Regions from separate parts of the Homo sapiens genome. Here all the other regions are linked to region 2. The links are contacts of gene promoters, found by promoter capture Hi-C in blood cells and fetal thymus (Javierre and others, 2016). All regions are on one chromosome and are shown on one strand. Each heading gives the region's core, a stretch centred on a gene start or on the middle of the fragment in contact. The rest is flanking DNA. Distances are from core to core; before and after follow the strand shown.

Evidence for each region. Contacts are between HindIII fragments. The CHiCAGO score rates a contact against its expected background, and 5 or more counts as called.
Region 1: a fragment that was not itself captured here is called in contact with the fragment with the promoter of HLX in region 2 in 3 of 17 cell types (total B cells, neutrophils and naive B cells); the score reaches 5.4 in total B cells.
Region 3: a fragment that was not itself captured here is called in contact with the fragment with the promoter of HLX in region 2 in 1 of 17 cell types (neutrophils); the score reaches 9.2 in neutrophils.
Region 4: a contact is called between a fragment that was not itself captured here and the fragment with the promoter of HLX in region 2, in 1 of 17 cell types (total B cells). The highest score is 6.1, in total B cells.
Region 5: a contact is called between a fragment that was not itself captured here and the fragment with the promoter of HLX in region 2, in 1 of 17 cell types (endothelial precursors). The highest score is 6.6, in endothelial precursors.
Region 6: a contact is called between a fragment that was not itself captured here and the fragment with the promoter of HLX in region 2, in 10 of 17 cell types (M2 macrophages, total B cells, endothelial precursors and 7 more). The highest score is 16.7, in M2 macrophages.
Region 7: a fragment that was not itself captured here is called in contact with the fragment with the promoter of HLX in region 2 in 4 of 17 cell types (monocytes, M1 macrophages, M0 macrophages and 1 more); the score reaches 12.8 in monocytes.

What each region holds. Positions count from the first base shown.
Region 1 is chr1:221,450,702-221,454,125 of GRCh38, forward strand. The region is part of intron 3 of LOC105372932 (a long non-coding RNA gene); the gene reads left to right. Among named protein-coding and RNA genes, the nearest start is that of LINC02817, 120 kb to the left of the region's middle. The HindIII fragment of the contact is 2,553 bases long and covers 1-2,547 here.
Region 2 is chr1:220,877,784-220,880,878 of GRCh38, forward strand. It overlaps HLX (H2.0 like homeobox), which reads left to right and starts at 1,660. Exons shown (of 4, transcript NM_021958.4): 1 at 1,660-2,666. The coding sequence starts at 2,075. HLX-AS1 (HLX antisense RNA 1) reads right to left here and starts at 2,357. Exons shown (of 3, transcript NR_046901.1): 1 at 2,066-2,357. RefSeq lists a silencer at 1,217-1,266 and an enhancer at 2,385-2,993. The HindIII fragment of the contact is 7,579 bases long and covers 218-3,095 here.
Region 3 is chr1:221,745,409-221,748,608 of GRCh38, forward strand. No RefSeq gene overlaps it. Among named protein-coding and RNA genes, the nearest start is that of DUSP10, 4.9 kb to the left of the region's middle. The HindIII fragment of the contact is 4,022 bases long and covers 1-3,200 here.
Region 4 is chr1:221,773,812-221,777,170 of GRCh38, forward strand. No RefSeq gene overlaps it. Among named protein-coding and RNA genes, the nearest start is that of DUSP10, 33 kb to the left of the region's middle. The HindIII fragment of the contact is 3,911 bases long and covers 57-3,359 here.
Region 5 is chr1:221,410,354-221,413,661 of GRCh38, forward strand. The region is part of intron 3 of LOC105372932 (a long non-coding RNA gene); the gene reads left to right. Among named protein-coding and RNA genes, the nearest start is that of LINC02817, 76 kb to the left of the region's middle. The HindIII fragment of the contact is 2,091 bases long and covers 778-2,868 here.
Region 6 is chr1:221,428,105-221,431,510 of GRCh38, forward strand. All of the region lies in intron 3 of LOC105372932 (a long non-coding RNA gene), which reads left to right. Among named protein-coding and RNA genes, the nearest start is that of LINC02817, 94 kb to the left of the region's middle. The HindIII fragment of the contact is 492 bases long and covers 1,105-1,596 here.
Region 7 is chr1:221,710,207-221,713,223 of GRCh38, forward strand. The region is part of intron 2 of DUSP10 (dual specificity phosphatase 10); the gene reads right to left. Among named protein-coding and RNA genes, the nearest start is that of DUSP10, 30 kb to the right of the region's middle. RefSeq lists an enhancer at 2,146-2,325. The HindIII fragment of the contact is 1,554 bases long and covers 769-2,322 here.

The DNA of each region.
Region 1 (3,424 bases), core at 21-2,520, 570 kb after region 2:
CTTCAGACAGATACGTGGTTGAAAAAGAGGAGTCTTTTAATATCCCCTCAGATGGTTGTGTATAATCTTCTTTGATACTACACCAAAACTTGACAAGTAACAATGTCTCAAAGGTTAGTTTCAGTGTGGCAATGTGCATGAAATTTTTGTACTCTATTTCATTAAAATCCATTTTTTAAAATCTTGCACTTTAAACAAATCTTGTACCCATGTTGGATTGTGTAACATCATGCATTGGTCATATGGAAATTATTAGTTACCTTAGGCAAATATTGTAAATGTTATCATATTTCATTATACAACTTTAAAAAATTCTATTCATGAATATCTTCACTCATCTCATCAGAAAAAGCCTTTAAGCATTGGGAAGTCATCAAGCACACATTGGTAGATGTAAGTTTTCCAAAATTCTAATTTTCTCTTGAAAGCTCAGATTTTATTATTGGCAACAAATACTGTCAATGATTTCTTTGAAGTGATGGCCTCATTTCATCAATTTTCTAAAAACTTGTCTACCAAGTACTCAACTCTGAATAACTGCAGTTTGTCCGTTCTTTCAACTCCATCACACAGTTGCCTTTCTTTGAAATAACCATCATACTTCATTATGCTGCAGAAGTGCTTTATACATAGCTCTTAGTTTATTATCTATTTTAACAATTTGTATTTGAGGGTCAATATTTAATAAAATGTAATAATTTTTTACAACTTCATCAAGGATATTCCTTGTGAAACCTTCTCCACAGTACATTTTGGAAAATTTTCATCACACCAAAAAGAAATCCTGTAGCCTTTAATATTTACTGCCATTTTCTTGCAACCCCAAGCCCTAGACAACCAGTAATCTACTTTCTACCTCTATATGTTTGCCTATTCTGGACGTGTTATATAAATGGAATCATGTAGACTTTTGTGACTGGCTTTTTTCACTTAGCATAATGTTTTCAACTTTCATCTATGTTGTAGCCTGTATCAGTATTTCATTGCTTCTAATTGTTTAATAATATTCTATTATACGGATATGCCACATTTTATTTTTCCCTTCACCAGTTGATGGACATTTGGGTTGTTTCCACTTTTGGGATCTTATGAATAATGCTGCTATGAACCTTTGTGTAAAAGTTTTTGTGTGAACATATGTTTCCATTTCTCTCAGGTATATACCTAGGAGTAGAATTCCTGGGTCATATGGTAACTCTATGTTTAGCCTTGGGTGAACTGCCAAACTGATTGCCAAAGAGGCTATACCAATTTACACTGTGACCAGTAATATATGAGTGTTTGAATTTTTTACATTCTTAGCACCACTTGTCATTATGTCTTTTTGATGATAGACATCCTTGAGGGTGTGAAGTCACATCTAATTGGGATTTTGATTTGTATTTCTTTGATGGCTAATGATGTTGAGCATCTTTACACGTGTTTATTGACCATTTTCTTTGGAGAAATATCTATTCAGATTTTTAGCCCATTTGTTGCTGTTGTTGCTAAACTCTTATTTTTACTGGTAAATAATAGTTTTATATTTTATGTATAATAATCAAATTGGGGTAATTGGAATATCCATCAACTCAAACATTTATCATTTCTTTGTGTTGGAAACATTTCAAACCTCTTCTATTATAAAATATATAATACATTATTATTAACTATGACCACACTACTGTAGTATTAAACAGTGGAACTTATCTATCTAACTGTATGTTTGTACCTATTAGCCAGCCTCTCTTCATCTCCCATTGCCCCCAGTCCTTCTCAATCTGTAGTAACCATCATTATACTGTCTACTTCCATGAGATCAATTATTTTTGCTCCCAAATATGAGTGAGAACATGTAATATTTGTCTTTCCATGACTAGTTTAGTTCACTTAACATGATGACCACAGTTCCATCCATGTTGCTGCAAATGACAGGATTTCATTCTTTCTTATGGCTGAATAGTATTCCATTGTGTACAAATACTACGTTTTGTTTATCCATTCATTCACTGATGAACACATAGGTTAATTCCATATCTTGGCTATTGTGAATGATGCTGCAATAAACATGGGAGTGTGGATATCCCTTTGATATACTGACTTCCTTTCCTTTGAATAGATACCCAGTAGTGAGATTGCTGGATCATATGATAGTTTTTAGTTTTTTGACAAACCTGAATACCATTTTTCACAATGGCTGTACTAATTTACATTCTCATTAGCAGGGTTTAAGAGTTCCCTCATCTCCACATCTTTGCCAATATTTGTTACTTTTTGTCTTTGGTAATGGCCATTCTGAGGTGAGATGACATGCGTTTCTCTGATGTCAGTGATATTGAGCATTTTTTAATATGCTTGTTGGTCATTTTTTATGTGTTCTTTTGAAAAATGCCTATTCAGATTATTTGCCCACTTTTTAATGAGATTATTGTGATTATTATTTTCTGGTGAGTTGGGTTCCTTGTATACTCTGGATATTAGTTTCTGATTGAATGAGTAGTTTACAAATATTATCTCCCATTCTACAGGTTATCTCTTCACTCTTGATTATTTCCTTTGATGTGCAGAAGCTTCTTAGTTTAATATAGTCCTATTTGTGTATTTTTGTTTTCGTCGCCTATGTTATGTAAGACTTAGCTATAAAATCATTGCCTAGACCAAATTCCTGAAATGTTTCTCCTATGTTTTCTTCTAGTAGCTTTTTTCTGGGGGTTGGGGTGTGAGGAGAGGGTTTCAGTTTGTTGCCCAGGCTGGAGTGCAATGACACGATCTCGGCTCATTGCAACCTCTGCCTCACAGGTTCAAGTGATTCTCGTGCCTCAGCCTCCCCAGTAGCTGCGCTACAGGCATTTGCCACGATGCCTGGCTAATCTTCGTATTTTTTGGTAGAGATGGGTTTCACCATGTTGGCCAGGCTGGTCTCGAACTCCAGACCTCAGGTGATCCCTGCACCTCGACCTCCCAAAGTGTTGAGCCTTCTAGCAGCTTTTGTTTGTTTGTTTGTTTTGACGGAGTATCGCTCTGTCACCCAGGGTGAAATGCAGTGGCGCGATCTCGGCTCGCTGCAACCTCCGCCTCCCGGGTTCAAGCAATTCTCCTCCTGCCTCAGCCTCCTGAGTAGCTGGGACTACAGGTGCATGCCACCACGCACGGCTAATTTTTGTATTTTTAGTAGAGACAAGGTTTTACCGTGTTGGCCAGGCTGGTCTCTAACACCTGACCTCAAATGATCCACCCACCTCGGCCTCCCAAAGTGCTGGATTACGAGCATGAGCCACCGTGCCCGGCCTCTAGTAGCTTTATAACTTCAGGTGTTATGTTTAAGTCATTGATTCATTTTGATTTGATTTTTGTATATGGTAAGAAATAGGGGTCTAGTTTTATTCTTCTGCATATGAATATCCAGTTTCCCCAGCACTACATATTGATGAACATGTCTTTTCTC
Region 2 (3,095 bases), core at 410-2,909:
TACCCCTACCTTCAGCCAAACACACCCATCTATCTCTGGAAATAGCACCTCTCTCCTGGTTGCGTGGAGCAGGGGAAGAAAACCTTTCAGTAAAAGAGAGATGGAGAGCGAGAGCGGGAGAGCTGGAGGGCGGGAGGAGGGAGAGAGAGAGGGAGAGGGAGAGATCTTAGTGCTGGCTGATCAGAAGTGATTGATAATTTTCCAGGAGAAAGTCAAAAGCTTAAAAGGATAGCATCTGCATCAAGGGGCTAGAGAAAACACCAGAAATTAATTTTATAAGCCCAAACCCTGAACTCGAGATAGGCATGGCAAGTTCACTTGCTTTTCTGGGTTTATTTGGTGAGGAGCCTTCGTGCTGAAGGGAAATAAAAATGTCACAGAATCCCTGTTAGGAGATGCTTATTAGGGCAATCGAAAACAAAAGTTTTCGTGGTTTCATTATTCGTATTATTTTATTTTCTTCCTGAAAATGTGCAAGAACAGCTCATCTGGGTGGCCTGTGGTTTGTTTGGGAGAGGGGTGGGGAAATTCATTCTGACTATAATTTAAAGAGAAGAAATTCTTAAAATAGATATGTCGATGTTGCACAAAACCTCCACCACCACTACCCTGCGTTCTAAAGACCCAAGGCACGAATGGAAGACGTTGACCACCACGCAGCTCCTCCTGCAACCAGGCCCAAGGGGTTCCTGGGGAAGCTGTCACAGAATTGAAAGCAGTATTGAACCCCACGGAAATCTGCTCTTGTGGGCACTTGCAAAACAACGAACCCCACGTGATCCGGAGATGTGGTGGAGGGGTGAGGCTAACATTTCCTACAACCTCCTGCAAAGGATGGAAGCGCGTGCCGCTCTCCCGGGTTTCGGGAGGCAGCCTGTTTTGTAGCCTCTGAGGCTCCGGGGAAAGGTTTGGCTGCGTCTAAGAGAGACGTTTGGAGCCATCCGTCTTATTTTGTTTGAAAAGTCACTCGTTCAATTTGTCACTGTGTGACAGCTCAGAATAAAACCAATTTGCGGCCGCCCCTCCTCCTCGCTTCCCGGAGGATCTCCTGGGAGGCACGAGGCGGACGCGGTGCTGAGTTGGGCCGGGACTCAGGGCGGCAACATTTGGGCAAGGGCCCAGGAAAGATGAGGGGCTTTGCCGAGGACACGGACTCCTGGAATAAAAGCAGAATGAGGTCAAGAGAAGGGAAGCAAAGGGGCCAAAGCGCGCTCCGCTCTCCACCGGGAGGCGGGCTTTGCAGAGCCCTAAAGAGTGAGATTACCGTCCCTTCCCCACGCCCCCAACTCGCCCCGGGTGACAAGCGCTTCAGGAAAGCTCCTGTGATCAACCCTCCTTGCCCCGTGGCGGTTCGGAGCTGCAGAAGTTAGAAGAGAGTCAGAGCCCTCCGGAGCGGCTGCCTGGCCCCTACGCAGAGTAGCAAGAAGCACTGCGATGTGCGCTACTAAGCCCACGCGGCCGCAGCAAAAACTTTGGCGTGGCCGGGGCGTGGCTAGGGTCCGGCCAGGCCCCCTTGTTCCTAATTCCCCTCCACTCCCCGCTCCCATTGGTCACGAGGATGACCAATGAGCGCTCGGATCGAGGTCCTACCCCGGGCCTGACTCGAAAGCTCCTGCCAAAACTTTGGGAGTTTTTAGAGACGAGTTTTTTTTTTTTTCTATTACTTTTCCCCCCCCCTAACTAACGGACTATTATTGTTGTTGTTTTAAATTTAGCTCTTAGGGCTTAGCTATTTGGGTTTTCTTGCGGTGTCCGGCTCCCGTCTCCCTGGCTCCCCCGCCCGCCCTGCGGCCCCAGCGCCCCTCGCTCTCATCCAGCCCGCGAGGAGTGCGGGCGCCGCGCCGCCTTTAAAGCGAGGCCAGGGAGCGAGGCGGTGACCGGCCGAGATCCGGCCCTCGCCTCCTCCCTCGGTGGCGCTAGGGCTCCCGGCCTCTCTTCCTCAGTGCGGGCGGAGAAGCGAAAGCGGATCGTCCTCGGCTGCCGCCGCCTTCTCCGGGACTCGCGCGCCCCTCCCCGCGCGCCCACCCACCCAGTCCGGCTGGACTGCGGCAGCCGCGCGGCTCACCCCGGCAGGATGTTCGCAGCCGGGCTGGCTCCCTTCTACGCCTCCAACTTCAGCCTCTGGTCGGCCGCTTACTGCTCCTCGGCCGGCCCAGGCGGCTGCTCCTTCCCCTTGGACCCCGCCGCCGTCAAAAAGCCCTCCTTCTGCATCGCAGACATTCTGCACGCCGGCGTGGGGGATCTGGGGGCGGCCCCGGAGGGCCTGGCAGGGGCCTCGGCCGCCGCCCTCACCGCGCACTTGGGCTCGGTTCACCCGCACGCCTCTTTCCAAGCGGCGGCCAGATCCCCGCTTCGACCCACCCCAGTGGTGGCGCCCTCCGAAGTCCCGGCTGGCTTCCCGCAGCGGCTGTCTCCGCTCTCAGCCGCCTACCACCACCATCACCCGCAACAACAACAGCAGCAGCAACAGCCGCAGCAGCAACAGCCTCCGCCTCCGCCCCGGGCTGGCGCCCTGCAGCCCCCGGCCTCGGGGACGCGAGTGGTTCCGAACCCCCACCACAGTGGCTCTGCCCCGGCCCCCTCCAGCAAAGACCTCAAATTTGGAATTGACCGCATTTTATCTGCAGAATTTGACCCAAAAGTCAAAGAAGGCAACACGCTGAGAGGTAGGTCTTGGGCGGGAGGCTGCAGGCCTCTGACCACTGACCCACTCCCCGGACCCCGGGCTGGCTTGGGGTGCCTTTGAGTGTTTTTACAATTAAGGACAAATCGGTAAAACGGGAGAGAAGAAAACGAATTGTAAGAAAACTACAAAACATTAGGTCTAAAACTCACCTGTTCTATGTAAAACAAACAAAAAATGACTCCAGGGATTCTTTAAAAACACGTCTTAGAATCAATATTTATAAAAGTGGTTGGTGTAATTATCTGCTAACATGACTTTGATCTCTTTAATAATGTATCTAGAGACAGAATTATATTTTCTGACAGCTAAAGCATTTTTGGGAAACACTTTCGCACTTATCTGATTTCTAGTAAAAATTTCACCCAGGAAATGTAAATAATAAACAAAACCGCCTAGATGAGCGGGCAGA
Region 3 (3,200 bases), core at 316-2,815, 870 kb after region 2:
TTATAGTTTCAAAGTAGTAGATTATTATAATTTAGTTGACTAAGAATCTAAGCCATCCAGGCTGAAACATTGGGAAAGATGGCAAAATTCCTTATCATATATCAAGCCTGAAATGTGGAATAATTACCAGATTATGAATATAAGCAAAGTTGTAGTTATTTTTTAAGTTAGGCATCTCTAAGTTTATATTCAAGTCATAAGACTGGTGAAAAAAATCAGATTATAGATGGAATTTTTTTCCATTCACTACTCTTCAGAACATCTTTTGGACAAGAAGAAGTGATTTTATTCCTGTTTTTGAGCGATAAATGTGAAAATACTACACTGAAATATAATGCCCTGAGACTTAAATTCGTAATGCTAGTCAGCCAATGGCTACAAATCTGATCTGTATATCAATAACCAGCAGCAGAGCGTTAATGTTAGTTTCAGTCCCAAAGAAAGAGTGAAGCATCTTCATTCAGTCTGGATGTTGTAACATGATTGTATTGAGCATATCTTTGTTCCCACAAACATCATAAGAAAAATATTGACTGTTTCAGCTGAAGTACTATGTATTAAAGTCAAAAGATGACAATAACTTAGGCCAACATATAAGATATAATATGGATAGTATTTAGCAAATGTATTAATTAAATTACTTCTTTTTTGTGCACTTAAATGGTTAAGTGTGTGGGGTAATGGCAGAAGGTGGGGCCTTCAAAATAATCCTCAAGGTCAAGATAGATTTCTGGAGGTACTAGAATTAAGGCAGAGAATGGCTTGGAGAAAACTTAAAAATCATCCAGGATAAAGATGATATTATACCAGAAGGAGTGGGGAATAAGCTGAGGAATAGGAAAGTGGCATGGTAAGTGTTTGAGGTCATTGAGACCAGCCTGGCAAAACATCCAGCAACACTCTCCAGGCCTAGGGAAGGGCTGATAAGAAGTGTTCCCTGAAGGAAGGAGCTGCTATGGTTTGAATGTTCCCCCAAAATACATGTTGAAACTTAATCACCAGTGTGACACTATTAAGAGATGAGGCCTTTTGGAGGTGGTTAAGTCATGAGGGCAGAGGCCTCATGGAAGGGATTAGGGCCATTACAAAAGGGCTTCAGGGAGTGAGTTAGTTTTCTTCCATTCCCCTGTGGGGACACAGCAACAAGGTGCTATCTTGAAATCAGAGATTGGACCCTCACCAGGCAGTGAACCTGCAGATGGCACCTTGATCTTGGACTTCCCAGCCTCCAGAACTCATGTGAGCAATAAATTTCTGTTCCTTACAACTTCCCCAGTCTCAGGTATTTTGTTATAGCGGCACAACTGGACTAAGACAGTGGCTACTGTAATGATGGAAACAGAGGCAGGGCCATGTGCTTGTCCCACTATCTATGAGTTTGGACACAAGAGGCCTGCAGTTCTTTCCTACAAAATTCATGGGCAGGTGTGCTTGTGACTCAGGAAAAGGCTCTGAGCCATTTAAGGCTCTATATCTGTATTTTCCAGTGTGGTGGTCATTTGACACATGTGTCGGCCACTCGAAGTGTGGCTAGTCTGAATTAAGATGTGCCATAAGATTAAAATACACATTGGATCTTGAAAACTTTATATACAAAGGGTAAAAGACATCAGTGCAAGTGGGAGGCAATAGAAATGGGAGCAGGGGTGAACTGGTGGAGCCTCTGTGACCACAATCTTGTCCTCCACACCTTCACACTTGACAGATGCAGATATAGCTATGGATAGATATATGTCTTATTCATGGGCTTCCAAAGTAAAATTTCAGTTAAAGAAAGGATCCTGGTTGGGATTTTTTTGTTGTGGTGGTTCTGGTTTTTTTGTTTGTTTGTTTTTTGTTTTTTTGTTTTTGAGATGGAGTCTTACTCTGCCGCCCAGGCTGGAGTGCAGTGGCATGATCTTGGCTCACTGCAACCCACGCCTCCTGAGATCAAGCAATTCTGCCTTAGCCTCCTGAGTAGCTGGGACTAGAAGGCATGCACCATCACGCCTAGCTAACTTTTGTATTTTTAGTAGAGACGGGGTTTCACCATGTTGGTCAGGCTAGTCTTGAACTCCTGACCCCATGATCCACCCACCTCGGCCTCCCAAAGTGCTGGGATTACAGGCGTGAGCCACCACGCCCATCCTCTGTTTTGTTTTTTAATCCTGTTTCTCTCTCTTTTTTTTTTTTTTTTTTCCTGTAAAGCAATTTCACTGGATGGCATGGCCAAAGCATGATTGATCTCAGACCTCTTTTCAAGGTTCACTCTGGCCTCTACTGATCACACAGAGGTGACTGGCTGGTTAGGGGAATTAATATGCTCCCTGTCTTCATTTAGGCAAGCAGATCCCTTTCAGTTTTTTCTTCCCCTTCACTGCTCCCCTATTTGTAACCCCACAAACATCTGCTGCTCTTTCTCAGAAGAGGATTTTGCCTCAGCCCAAGTGTGTGGACCATGGATGTAAACTTATTTTCTTTATGAAAATAACACACACAAAACATTCACTGGCCTTGGGTCTCCAACAATGCCCTCCTCTGTGGCGGATGGCCTGTTATTATTATGTGTTGCTACATCAAAGACTGTTAACATTTTCCCCTTCACTAAACTGAGCAATCATGTTTTATCATTACGATATGCTGTCAGCGCCAGTTTCTCAACCCCAGGAGGCTGGGTCCAACTGTGTTACTGAAGGATGCAAAGTTATAAGGTAAACATGCACGCAAAGCATTCATAAACCCCCTCAAGACTTGTTTCAGGTCTAACACTAAAGAATTAATCTAACGTTCTCAGCATCTCCTAGTAGGTTCAGACTGTACCACTTCTACATATAAGAAGTTCCTTTAGACAACAAAGTGCATCATAACGTACTTTATCTTTACAATTGAATATTAACTGAACTGATTTTAAAGATCTAGAATTTGGGAAAAAATAATCATAGGTAACATATTACTAAGTGTTTTGTTCTGTGCTAAGCACTGCTGTAAGTGATTTACATGCATTAACTCACTTAAATCCTCACAGCCACATCGATCTATAAGTAAGTACTTTTTTATTAGCTTAATTTAAAGATGAGAAAACAGAAATACAGATGGGGTAAATAATTTGCCCAAGGTCACAAAACTAGAAAGCAGCAGAGTCAACACTTAAACCCAGACAATCTGGCACCAGAGCATCTGCTTTTAACCATTTTGTGTTATTTCATTCACTCTTGTTGTGA
Region 4 (3,359 bases), core at 762-3,261, 900 kb after region 2:
TGTGGAAAATAAGGGCTTAGACTCAAAAACCCAGGGAAGAAAAAGAATGAACTATAAGCTTTTTTCTTCATACGGGAGACAGATACAGTGCCCCAATATAAATCATGCCTGCTTATGGGGCAGGCATTTCTATAACGGAATTTCAAAATGTAGTCAATAACTTTATTTTACAGCTGAAGACACTGAGTCCCAGATAATTCACTGAGGACTTGGACTTAAGTTTCCTTCTGGTCACAATCACAATGCATTGTCTTTAGGAAGACCCCACATCCGCTTGGATCATCAAGCAGGGCCCTGAAACAGCACAGCAGCCATGGCTAGTTGATAGGTGGGGTTTGCCAGACCTGAGGGCAGGAGAGGGACAGCCGAGACCTGAAGTACATGGGCTAGGAAAAACAGTCATTACCTCTTATATATGTAGAGTGCTGGACAGTTCATGAAACTGTCTCCATACATTAGCTCATTTCCTGCTCATGTCATCCTTTGAAGAAATTAGTATAATCATCTTTATATCGCAGATGAAAAAATAAGCCCCAGCAGGTTTAAAAAGCAATGATCATCGTATATCTAAACTTGAGCACAACAGGAATTTGAACCTGAATTTTTTTGTACCATATCCAGAATTCTTCTGAGGTTCCGAACTCAGTTGTCTTGTGTTCAAAGCCTATAGGCCCTGTTACTGCAGGTACGAGCCTGAGAACAATGAAGGGGCGCTTTCCGGAACTGCTGTGTGAGCTTAATGCTATCTCTGCCATTTCCTTGTACTCCTTTAGCAAATCCTGTGTAAATAGAAGTTTTATTTGAACAAAGGAGAGTGTCCAGGATTCTTCAGCTTTGCCTTCAGCTTTGCAGCTGGAGAAAGTAAAATCTATGGAGATAAAATTTAAGCCAATCAAACAGCAAGAACAAGCAAAAAGCTCTCTCCTTCTCCCTTTTATTTCTTGCTTTTCTTGGTGAGCTTGTTTCTCTCCCTGACTAGGAATAAAGGCCTCTCTTTGGGCACAGACAGCATCTTATTCATCTTTACATATCTCTTCCTGAGATACAGGCATAGTGTTCTTTATGTTACAGATACACACCACATGCTTATTAAACAAAAATTAAGTTGTGTACATAACTCTTATCACAATCCACTGATGCTATAAAACTAAGTTAAGTTCACCATCCAGGCTGGGCGTGGTGGCTCACACCTGTAATCTCAGAACTTTGGGAGGCCAAGGTGGGAGGATTGCTTGAGGTCAGGAGTTCAAGACCAGCCTGGGCAACATAGTGAGACCCCCATCTCTACCATAAAATAAAATAAAATAAAATAAAATAAAATAAAATAAAACGAAATAAAAATAAAAACTTCATCATCTCTTGGCTTTTATCTCCTTCTAAGGAGGTCCTCTGAACCTGCCCACTCCTCAAAATGACAACATGTTTGGTGTTTGGAACACAGAAATTAATCTTGTGCTTTTAAAATGTATAGTTAATGATTAAGGAAGCTCAGACTTAGCACAACTCAGGGTTTTCCCTATGATGCAAACCAAAAACGGCCAATTCAGTCAGTTCAAAGAAAAAATACTCCACCAAGTTGTTAGGTGCTTTCCATAAACATTACTGTGTACCAAAGGATTTCACCAAGTTGGTAATCGTGTTTAACAATCTTCCATTATAAATGCACCTAATAATTGGATAGAGAGTGGGAAAAAGACATTCGATTGACTATGTTTTGAAAATCTTGATATTTGATTGAATTGTATTGGTGGCATTGAGGAGTCAAAGGCTGCATCTTCTGGGTCTGTGGTCGACACCTTGGCTTCCCAAAATGAGGACGGCAGCTACACTGACATTGCTTGGGAGCTTCTTAGAATGCAGAATCTCAGTCTGTGTCCCAGACCCAAAGGTTAAGAATCTGCATTTTAGCAAGATCTCCAGGGGATCAGAATGTACACTGACATTTGAGAAGCACACAACTTAACCTCTAGCGCTTTGTATTTGGAAATATAGAGGCACCAGATTTCACCCCACAAATTTGAGCAGGCAGAGTTGGAGGAATGTCTCCCTGTAAAACAAAGTTAGAGGAGACAGTTTTGGGCACTGCCTAGCTTTGGAGCCCTGGGGAAAGCCATGGCCAAAGAAGATTATGAAAGCCACAGCCGAGAGTCAGTCTTTAAAAAAAAATAACAGCTTTCTTGAGATATAGTTTACATATATGATTCACTCTTTTATATTATACAACCCAGTGAGATTTTGTATATTCACAGAGTTGTGCCACCATCAAAAATTTTAAAACATTATTATCACCCCTAAAAGAAATCCGTACCCATTAGCCATCAGTTTCCAATACCCTCATCAACTCCCCACGCTGGGCAACCACTAATCTACTTTGCATCTATATACATTTGCCTAATCTGGCTTTTCGTCTAAACGGAATAATACATAATGTGGGCTTTTGTGACTGGCTTCTTTCACTTAAAATAATGTTTTCAGGGTTTTGCCATGTTGCAGCATGTGTCAGCTCTTCATACCTTTTGACAGCCCGATAATATTCCATTGCACGGATTATACATTTTGCTTATCCACTCGTCTATTGATGGACATCTGGATTGTTTCCAGTGTTTAACCATCATGAATAAAGATGCTATGCACATTGGTTTACAAATTTTAGGTGTGAACATAAATTTTTACTGGAGAAAGTTTTTTTTTTTTTCTTAAGTGAAAGCAAGTTTGTTAAGAAAGTAAAGGAATAAACAATGGCTACTCCATAGGCAGAGTAGCCCTGAGGGCTTCTGGTTGCCCGTTTTTATGGTTGTTTCCTGATTATAGGCTAAACAAGGAATGGATTATTCACAAGTCTTCCAGGAAAGAGGTGGACAATTCCCAGAACTGAGGGTTCCTCCCCATTTTAGATCATACAGGGTAACTTCCTGATGTTGCCATGGCATCTGTAATTTGTCATGGCGCTAGTGGGTGTGTAGCAGTGAGAACAACCTGAGACAGTTTTGACCCTTAAACAAAGTGGGTGATATGGCTGTCAGCAAGAGAAAGGCAGGTAGGCAGGACTTCTGGGAGGAACAGCCACCTGCTCAGGAAGAAACCCTTCCACCCCAGCTCTTCCACTACCTGTGCAACCACCAGCAAATCACGAGATATCTCAGATCCACGTCTGCAAAACGGACATAAATCTTAGCCACATTGACCTCACACTTCCTTTTTTTTTGTGTTTCATATGGGATAATTAGCATAAAGCTGTTTTCAAAGGAAAAATACTACACAAAGACCCAACAGGATAGTTGTTCTTATCACATCACTGTCATTTTGGCAATTCTTGAAATTGCCAGTACCTAGTGAGCTAATGACCTTCTCACTCAGAA
Region 5 (3,308 bases), core at 573-3,072, 530 kb after region 2:
TATTTGAGTCACTTGGATTCAATGATAGTTTAAGGAAAAGAGAAGAAAGGAGTGAGGGCGAGAAGGAAGGAAAGAAGGAAAGATCTAGCTGACTGGCCTGGATAGAGGGGACTGAGCTATGGACAAAGAAAAAGGCCAAATAGTGAGGCAAAATGGGCATACATGGTGGAAAGAAGACGGGCTTGGGGGGCTGTGGCTTAATGCTCATAAAGAATCAAGGCCTCTATTACCCCTAGCACAATAGATTTGGGGCTTAGGACAGCAGATCAATCTTCATTTCTCACTCTCTAGCGACAAGGAATTTCTCAATATATCAAAAGCCCTGGTTTTCAGAAGCTCAAGGCTTGGGTGGGTCCAGGCCTCCTCATGGGGGGATGTTAGTATTTACATCCTCCTCAGGGAGGATCCCCCTCATGGGAGGATCCAGCGCACACTAGGATAGAGAGTTACATGACAGCTATCGGTCTTACAAAATGTTTATTTGGGTCATAGGAGGAATGAATAAATAAATCATTGTTAACTTCTCCAGAGAAAACCATTACGTAACTCTAAGTATCCATTTTTAAATAGAAGTTGAGACTTCACCGTATATTGTCAGTTACTATCTAGTAGAATTTTATCCTTGGCACACGGACAATGCACATATTTTCTTTAAAAGCACTGTAACTAGAGGTCCCATATACCTCCTAGAATATACATGATGTGACTTCCTTTGAAAGGTGACCTGCTATTTTGACTAACGACCTTGCTAATATAAATATCATGGAGAGATTACTAAGCTTTTTTTTTTTTTTCGTTTCTTACAAGAAAAGAGATTTCTCTCTCTCTTCAGTTTAATGTGTTACCTGAAGTCACAGGGTATCTTGATGGAGCAGCCAACACCAGAACCTATATAATTGTACCTATGGGTGACTCTGCCTGACCTTCCCATCTCCATGGGCAGTTACATAGTCCTGGCATGCATCCAAAAATGGCATGGCAACAATCACCTTTGTTTTATTTTACTTTGTCATCAATGGTTAATATTTCCTGGCACATCAGAAAAGGATTACATCTGGATGCACAGGCTTCCTTCTCCTATTGATAGCCTTTGTGATTTGTCATAAGCTGTTGATCATTAAATAAGCATGTCTTTTAATCATGACCGGTCTGGGAACAGCTTAGACTAACAATCCTAAGAAAAATCCGCCACTCTTTCCTAAGTCAGGTTCCTTTCAATAGAACCATATTATGTTGGGCTTTGTTGTATTTCCTGCTTTGGCCCAATAACGGGGCTTTAGTGACCCTTGCTTGTTTTGAAGAAAGATGACAGATTTCCTGCAGCTCTTTCTACAAGCAGGCAGCTGCGGAAACATCACAGTAATAAACCAAACATATTCTGGGCACCCAGGAAAGCTCCTAAACACTCACTATCCTTTTATTCCTTGCTCTGGGGACTTTCTTCTGATATGATACGGGAGACATTTTCCACCCAAAGTTCTTGACCTTGCCATCAACCATGGTCATTCTCCTTTCTCAACCCTGTAGTTACGTAACTGTTGGGTTTTGTTCATTCAGATGTTGATTATTTGTCCCAGCCAGCCATTCAGAATGTACAGATTTGATCACAATTAGAGGTAACCTTGAAGATACAGACTGTACATTGATTACATAAATTTTAGACATGGTACTATGTCACTTAACTCAGGTAGAGATGAGATAAAACTATAGATCACATTTGTAAATTCATTTCCTATATTAATTATCAGTTGAAACAATTCTTATGGATATTTAGGAAATATGAAGCAAACTTTGAATATTTCACTTTTGCAAGAAGGACAGCCTCTCTCTCTAGCTACCTATTTTATTTTTTAGAATAAACTGGGGCCTGTCCAAGTAAATTACATTGCTTTTTTTCTGTTTTTGCATTGTAAATTAAAATATGTACAGAAAGACACAAAGCAAGCTGAAAGGCTCCCAGCTTCATCCATGGCCCTGCAAAGGACATGATCTTGTTCCTTTTTATGGCTGCATAGTATTCCATAGTGTCTATGTACCACATTTTCTTTATCCAGTCTATCATTGATGGGCATTTGGACTGATTCCATGTCGTTGCTATTGTGAATAGTGCTGCAATGAACATGTGTGTGCATGTATCTTTATAATAGAATGATTTATATTCTTTTGGGTATATACCCAGTAATGGGATTGGTGAGTCAAATAGTATTTCCAGTTCTAAATCCTTTAGGAATTGCCACACAAAACAAATGCAGGGTTTTATGAGTTACTACAAGGCAGAAATTCTTGTTACCATCACTCAGGTCAAGAGAGAAAATTTGTTAACACCTTAGAAGCCATTCCAACCATAATCCTCTCTGTCCAATTTTAATCACAAACTTGTATTTTCTTCTTCACTTTTGTGAATTTCTTTATACTTTTATTACTTCGGTGAACATCCCTGGGAGCTTCAGTTAGTCTGATCCACTTAAAGAAAACTGATACATCTTTTAAGTCTTCTCCTTTTATCCCTTTCTTTTCCTTATAATTTATCTGTTAAAGAAAAAAGGGCATTTGACCTGCATATTTCTCCACAGTCTTGATTTTGCTGATTGCCAACACAAAGTTCAGTTCAGCCTGCTCCTCTCTTCTCAGTATTGGCTGCAAACTGGATCAGATCAGACAGATCCTGCTTTGACTCAGTTTCTATCCATGTGTCAGGACTGTAGGCAGTGGTATGTTTTTACAATGGGAGACATTCGATATCTGGGTATCTCTCTTTTTGTGACGTTAACAGCCAATTTTGTTTGATGACTAGATCCCTTACTAATTTGGGGAATTGCAAATGGGGTCATCCTAATTCTATCATTAATTTTCATTTATGAGGTGGGAAGCTTTTATAGCACAACCTTCCCCTCATCTACGATTTGGTTGTCTACTGGTAACTTATCTTGATTCCACTTCCAGGCGTGTGTGTGTGTGTGTGTGTGTGTGTGTGTGTGTGTGTATCCATGTGGAAGGAAGTTCTGGGGGTTAGCTTTATGGATTTATTGGGGATTGACTGCTCCAGCCCCTTTAGGATACGCCACAGGCCTCTTCCTCTAATCCACACTTGTGCTGGACAATACCCCTCCTGGTGCTAACCCAGAACTGGCCCATGACACTTACCACTGCTCTGGCTACTCTGGGCTTCTTCTGGTTGTGGTTATTTCAGGTAACTCAAACACCAATGCAGGGCTTATGGGTGCTGGTATTTTGTCCTCAACCCCTTATAGTTTGAGAATTGTGGAGAAAAGCTGCTATCTAGTTTTATTTTTAGATATGAATATCAT
Region 6 (3,406 bases), core at 101-2,600, 550 kb after region 2:
CACAGTCAAAAAAATACTTATTTTAATCTTTTTAAATTTGTTAAGGCTTTTGCGACTTTATATGTGATTTATCCTGGAGGCTATTTCATTTGCAATTCAGAAGAATGTTTCTTCTGTTGCTGTTGAGTGAAATGTTCAGTATATGTCTATTAGGTCCAGTTGGGTTATAGTGCTGTTCAAGTTCTCTGTTTCCCTATTAATCTTCTGTCTGGATGTTCTCTCCATTATTGAAAGTAGAATATTAAATTTCTCTACTATTATTGTGTTGCTGTCTATTTCTCTCTCAGTTCTGTCAATGTGCGCTTTATTCATTTAGGTGTTCTGATGTTTGGTACATATATACTTATAATTGTTATGTTTCCTGGTGAACTGACTCTTTTGTCATTGTATTATATCCATGTTTTCTCTTGTGACACTTTTTGACTCAAAATCCATTTTGCCTAAAAAATTATGGCCACCATTGCTCGATTTTGCTTACCATTTTTATGAGATATATTTTCTTTTTATTTTTTCACTATTTTTAATCTAAACTGAGTCTCTTGCAGAGAGTATGTGACTATGTTTTTAAAAATTTTATCTATTTAGCCATTCTATGTTTTTTGTTTAGAGAGTTCAATTCATTTACATTTAATGTCATTATTGACAGGAACAGATTTACTATTGCCATTTAAAAATTATTTTCTATCTGTCCTATAGTTCTTTTGTTCCTACTTTTTTTCATTATCTTTATTTGTGTTTCATTGATTTTTGTAGTGATACACTTTGGTTCGTTTCTCATTTTCCTTTGTATACCTTCCATAGGTTTGTTTTTGTGGTTATCATGGGACTTACATAAAATAGCTTATAATTATAACAATGTGCCTTAAGCTGATGACAACATGAGTTCAGTTGCACACACAATTGCGTATTACTCCTCCTCTCCATACTTTGTTATTGATATACCAAATTGCATTTTTATTGTATCAATTAGCATATTTTTATAATTATAGTTATTTTTTATACTTTTGTCTTTTGACTTCTATACCAAAACTAAAAGTGATTTACACACAACTGTTATAGTATTATAGCATTTTGTATTTGTCTATATATTTACTTTTATCAGCAAGCTTCATACTTTCATATGCTTTGTCTTAATGTTTAGCATATTTTTTGTTCCAACTTGAAGGACTTCCTTTAGCATTTCTTATAAGTGAGGCCAAGTGGTGACAAATTTTCTTGCCTTTTATTTCTTTGAAAAAGTCATTATCTCTCTTTCATTTTTGACAAGTAATTTTGCTGAATATGACATTCTTAATTGGCGTTTAGTTGTCATTTTAGTACTTTGAATATATCATCCCACTTTGTTCTGGCCTGCAAAGTTCCTGCTAAGAAATCTGCTGATAGTCATATATTGCTCAATTGTATGTGATGAGTCACTCTTCTCTTGCTGCTTTCAAAATTATTTGTTTATTTTTGGCTTTTGACAATTTGGTTATAATATGTCTCAGTGCTGACTTCTTTGGATTCATCCTATTTGGGTTCCATTGGACTTCTTGAACCTGTTTGTCTATCTCCTGCACATATTTGGGACATGTTTGGCCATTATTTACTTAAGTAAGCTTTCTGTCCCTTTCTTCTTTTTTATGAAACTCTGATTACGAATATATATATTATACATTCGTAATATATAAATATATATGAGATATATATATATATATCTCTCTCAGGGAAACCATTCATAAGAATAATTTTCAAAGGAGACAGAGAAAAGGTTCCTCTCCATTTCATTCTAGCCAAAGTTAACCTAAGCATTTAGAAGTTTTGCTTCCAGGTTTGTACTGCTTTTATTTATTTCCCTATGTTTAATATATATATAGAGAGAGTATATACATTTATAGTGTGTGTGTATGTGTGTTTTGATAGTGTTCCCATAAGGCCCTTAGACTTTCTTCAGTCTTTTCCATTATTCTCTTTTCTTTTTGCTCTTCTTACTGGGTAATTTCAAATGTCTTCTAGTTCACTGATTTTTTATTCTGCTTAATCAAGCTTGCTGTTAAACACTGTTAACTGAAAAATCACAAAATTTATAAATTTAGAAAGGAGAGGAGACTTCATTTCTTGTGAAAGTTACAGCCTTCAAGGTCACTATCCACAGCTGGGAAGCATAGCACCTGGCAAATAACGGAGAAAGGCACTTTGAAGGAGCGGGGATTAGGGTAGGAGCCTTATGCTGAGTGCGTTGACTAACATACATATTCAACAGGTTACAGGAGGAGCTACAAATATTCAAGCAGGTGATTCTGACTCAACATCTCATTGCATTACAATTAGGGCTTATATTTCAAAAAGCGAAGAGGGACATGAAGGCACTTAAGTGCATAACCTCTAAACTGGCTAGAACAGGTCCACAGTTGGTAATCTTATCAGACAAATTAGTTTCTTGTCTAATTAAAGCTGTAGTTATGTATGACTTGTAGAACAGAGTGGTCAGTTAGTCAGTGGCTGGTGGTAGAAGAGCTGAAAGTTTTTTTTGAGATACTGCTTATCTCAAGACCAGTGTTTGTTTAGCTGCTAAAGAAAAAGAAAAATCTTGTGGCAGTTAGAACATAGTTTATTTTTTAAGTGTAGGGGATGCATGACTTAACTCTTGCCTGGCATGGCCTTGGGTCCTGTTTATAATTTGACATTTCATTGCCACAAAGAGTTTGTTTTGTCAGTCTTAGATCTCTATTTTAACATTAATGCTGGTCAGTCATTGTGTCTAAACTGCAAAAGAGAGGGTGTATAATAAGGCATGTCTGACCTCCTGTCCCATCATGGCTGGGAACTCAGTTTTTAAGATTTCTCTATAGTTTTTTTGGCCAAAATGGGGTCCATTCAGTTAGTGTGGGGTGGGGGCTTAGGATTCTAATTTTAGTTTACAATATTAGTTATTTTTTTCAGTTCATTTACAACATTCTTCAGCTCCAACACTTATTCTATTGTTTTTGTTTGTATCTTTTTGTTGAAATTCTTATTTTGCTCAGTCATTGTTTGTATGAGCTCATTGAGTATCTTTTAAAGTTTATTTTGAATTCTTTGTTGGGTAATTCATACACTTATTTATTTAGGGTTGATTTCTGGAGATTTGTTTATTTTTTTTTTTATTGGAGCATTTCTCCCTGTTTCTTCCTGCTTTTTTAAACTTTGCGCTGGTACTTACACATTTGAAAAAACAACCACCTCTCCCAATTTGTACACACTGGATTTGTACAGGGAATGATATCATCATTAAGATTGGCTGGGGATTCTGGAGCCCTCTCAAATCTTTTCTGTGATGTGTCTTCTTTGGACTTTTGCATGTAGATTCTTAATTATAGAGATTTGCTTGTTTCTTTTTTTAGGAGCTCATAATCTCTGGCTCCCTCTGATGTCTGTCTGCTGTACC
Region 7 (3,017 bases), core at 296-2,795, 830 kb after region 2:
TCTAAATTCCAACAGATCTATGCACACGCATAGTCCATGAGAGCCCTAAGTGCAGTGCAGTGATTCAGAGAAGGAGTATTGAGGCTGGACTTCTTGGGTTTGAATCCCCAGCACAGCCAAACACTAGCTATGAGACCCTGGGCAGGTTTCTCACCTGTCTGTTCCTCAGTTTCCCTGTATACAAAACAGGGATAACAATAGTACCTACCTCACTGTACTGTTGTAATGATTAAAGTGGTTAATAAAGTACCTTAAAACAATGTCCAGCACATTGTAAGTGCTTTTTCTTTTCATCACTTTGGGAAACTACCATTTTAAAGATCTAAAAAAAAAAAAATCTGCTTAATATAAAGACTCTATATAAGTAAACTAATGTTCCTGAGTTTTTACTTTTAAAATTTTATTTAACAAAAAAGAATTAGGAACCAAGGTATCCGAGCAGTTTTAAAGTTTGCAAAACATACTTTTAACATAAAGAAAGCAACAGCTCCCTATTTTTCCTAAACAAATATATCTGATTTCACTTTGTTGGTCCTAGCTTTCCTAACAAACACTGTCTTTGCATTTCTGGTTTTTCCACAGAATTGGATTTTGAAAATAAAACTGTTCTTCCCTCCTTCTTCCTTTCCTCTAATTTCTACCAAGGTGGCTAACTTCCTTATGTGCACAAGAGCCTGCAGTTATTAGTGCGAACATATTGTAGCCATGAGCAACAATGCTGGGGTAGGGTGAGGCAAGGCGGGGTGGGGGGGCAGCAAACATTTTCAAAGCTTATGTCAAAAGTAGGTTCTCTGCCAAAATGAGTATGGTCAGTACATTGATTCTAAATGGCAGCAACAAAGAATACCTAGCACCCCTAAAGAACTATATGTGGAAATACTGCCTGCCAGTTTCTTCTAACACACGGTCAGTTCAGTGACAGTCCTACTGAAGCAATGGATTCTAGTTTTAGTGGGAAACTTCTCTTTATAGATGCATTTCAGCTCCTGTTGCTGTTTTGGCGACTGCAGTCCTAGAAACAGAAGAGTCCTCTGTAATGTGATTCAGAAGCAATGCGCTGGGTTGTGAGTTAAAGAAACCACATCCAAATGCAGAATCTATAAGCAAGAGATTTTTATACTCTAAAGGTGGACAGCCCTTTTTGGTCTTATGCTAAGCTAGAAAGTGAGCTGTTTCCAGAAATTTAAGGAACACTCTCACTGAAGGTCAGCAAACAGAAGTAATGTCCAAAGACCAGGGGGAGGGGTGTAGGCTAAAATTGGACTCTTCTACAGTTTGCTATAAGCATATTGATCACCCCTCTCTGTTGCCTAGTTTTTCTTACTGAGTAACCAGTCTTTTAAAGTAAAACAGTACCTTGATGATAGTGGTTAAGATCATAGACTGGAGCCAGATTGCTTGAGTTAAAACTCCTGACTCCTATCACTTACCTTGTAACCTTGAGCAAGTTATTGATGTCTCTGCATCTCAGTTTACATATCTGTGACTTGTAATATAATAATTTCTATCTCACAGAGCTCTCAATATGGATAAAATGCTACATGAGAGTTAGGTGTTTTATTATAAGTGGGAGAGACATTGCTGTAAGTTGCATACTATTTTGTTTATACCAGGAACAGATGGATGCTATGATATACTCCATGGAAACAGAACATCAGAGCCACTCAAGATTCTATAAGCACAAGAATCTGTGGAAGAACAAAGCCTGGATGAACTGGAGCTGATGTCAGGCTGCCAAGGCTGAAATCTTCTTCAAAGACAGGGTCAGAGTCACTTCATAAGTTTCAGGGCAGAATATCACCTATCTTAACAGGAGAAACATGTGGGGTGGTGGTGGGTACCAGCTCGATCCACAAAGATTATTTCTACTTCTTGTTTTCTATGAAATGTTCTTTATACTCCATAGATGTGATTGGGTATTTTACAGTAGGAATTGGGTATTTTACAGTAGGGTATTTTCAAGTTCAAGATGAAAATCATTCCTACTGTAAAATACCCAAGGAAGTATTACTTAAATTGTCTTAGGATCTTGCCCCCAGGGAACTTGTATTTCTTTCCCAAGAAGAGTAAAGGGAGGCCCTATCAAACAGAGGCAGAGAGAGTTGAATGGGAGTGCTGTCTCACTAGGTATAAGGTATGAAACAAGAGATAAAGAAGTATTTATCTTACTCAGGGGAAGAAAGAGATTTAGGAGGCTGACTATGAGTCAGAGAGAAGTCTTCTTATGATCACGTCATTTGACTGCTTCCCTCAAACCAGTGTGGTCTGGCTTACATGTGAGATGCCTTATGTTTGAAAAGACATAAACAAGGAAGTATCACAAGCTTAAAATACACACATATACATAAAACTTCAGATATACTCATATAACATAATGGGATCTTGAATCCCATTGAGTACCCATCCACATTATTTGGCTTGCTATATTATTAAGTCTTTTAGGAAGATATATCTAAAAATAAGTTAGTCCCTCCATTCATGGGTTTTTCCTGTGTGAAGGAGACACAGTTATCTACAGATATATCTTAAAAGCCAACTCTAGAAAAGACAGTGGATGATATATAAAGCAGCAAAAAAAAAAAAAAAAAAAAAAAGAGCTTTGCCTTGGATTTAGAATAGTGGGTCTGCCACATGCCAAGTGTGTGACTTTTTGAAAGTTATTGAAGTATTCTGGGCTATCTTTCCATAACTATAAAATAGGATACTACTACTTAGGTCTGTCGTAATGATTCAATGATTTTGTGTGTACAATAGCCATCCTGGTATTTTAAGAAGGCATTCAAACCCTGCAGCTATTTGAATGACTGTCAAATGGAGCAGCAAAGCTAACTAGCACTGGAGGTAGTCAGATGCAGGAAGATGACCAGAGACTACAGGGGTCAATGTCAGTGTTGCTAGAGATGAACTTTTGATGCTGGTACAGTTGCTTCAGAGCAGTAGGAAAAGGAGACCATCCTGCAGAGGCAACCCCATGCAAGGGCATCACCAGAGAGGGAGGACAAAGCAGGAGCCATGAG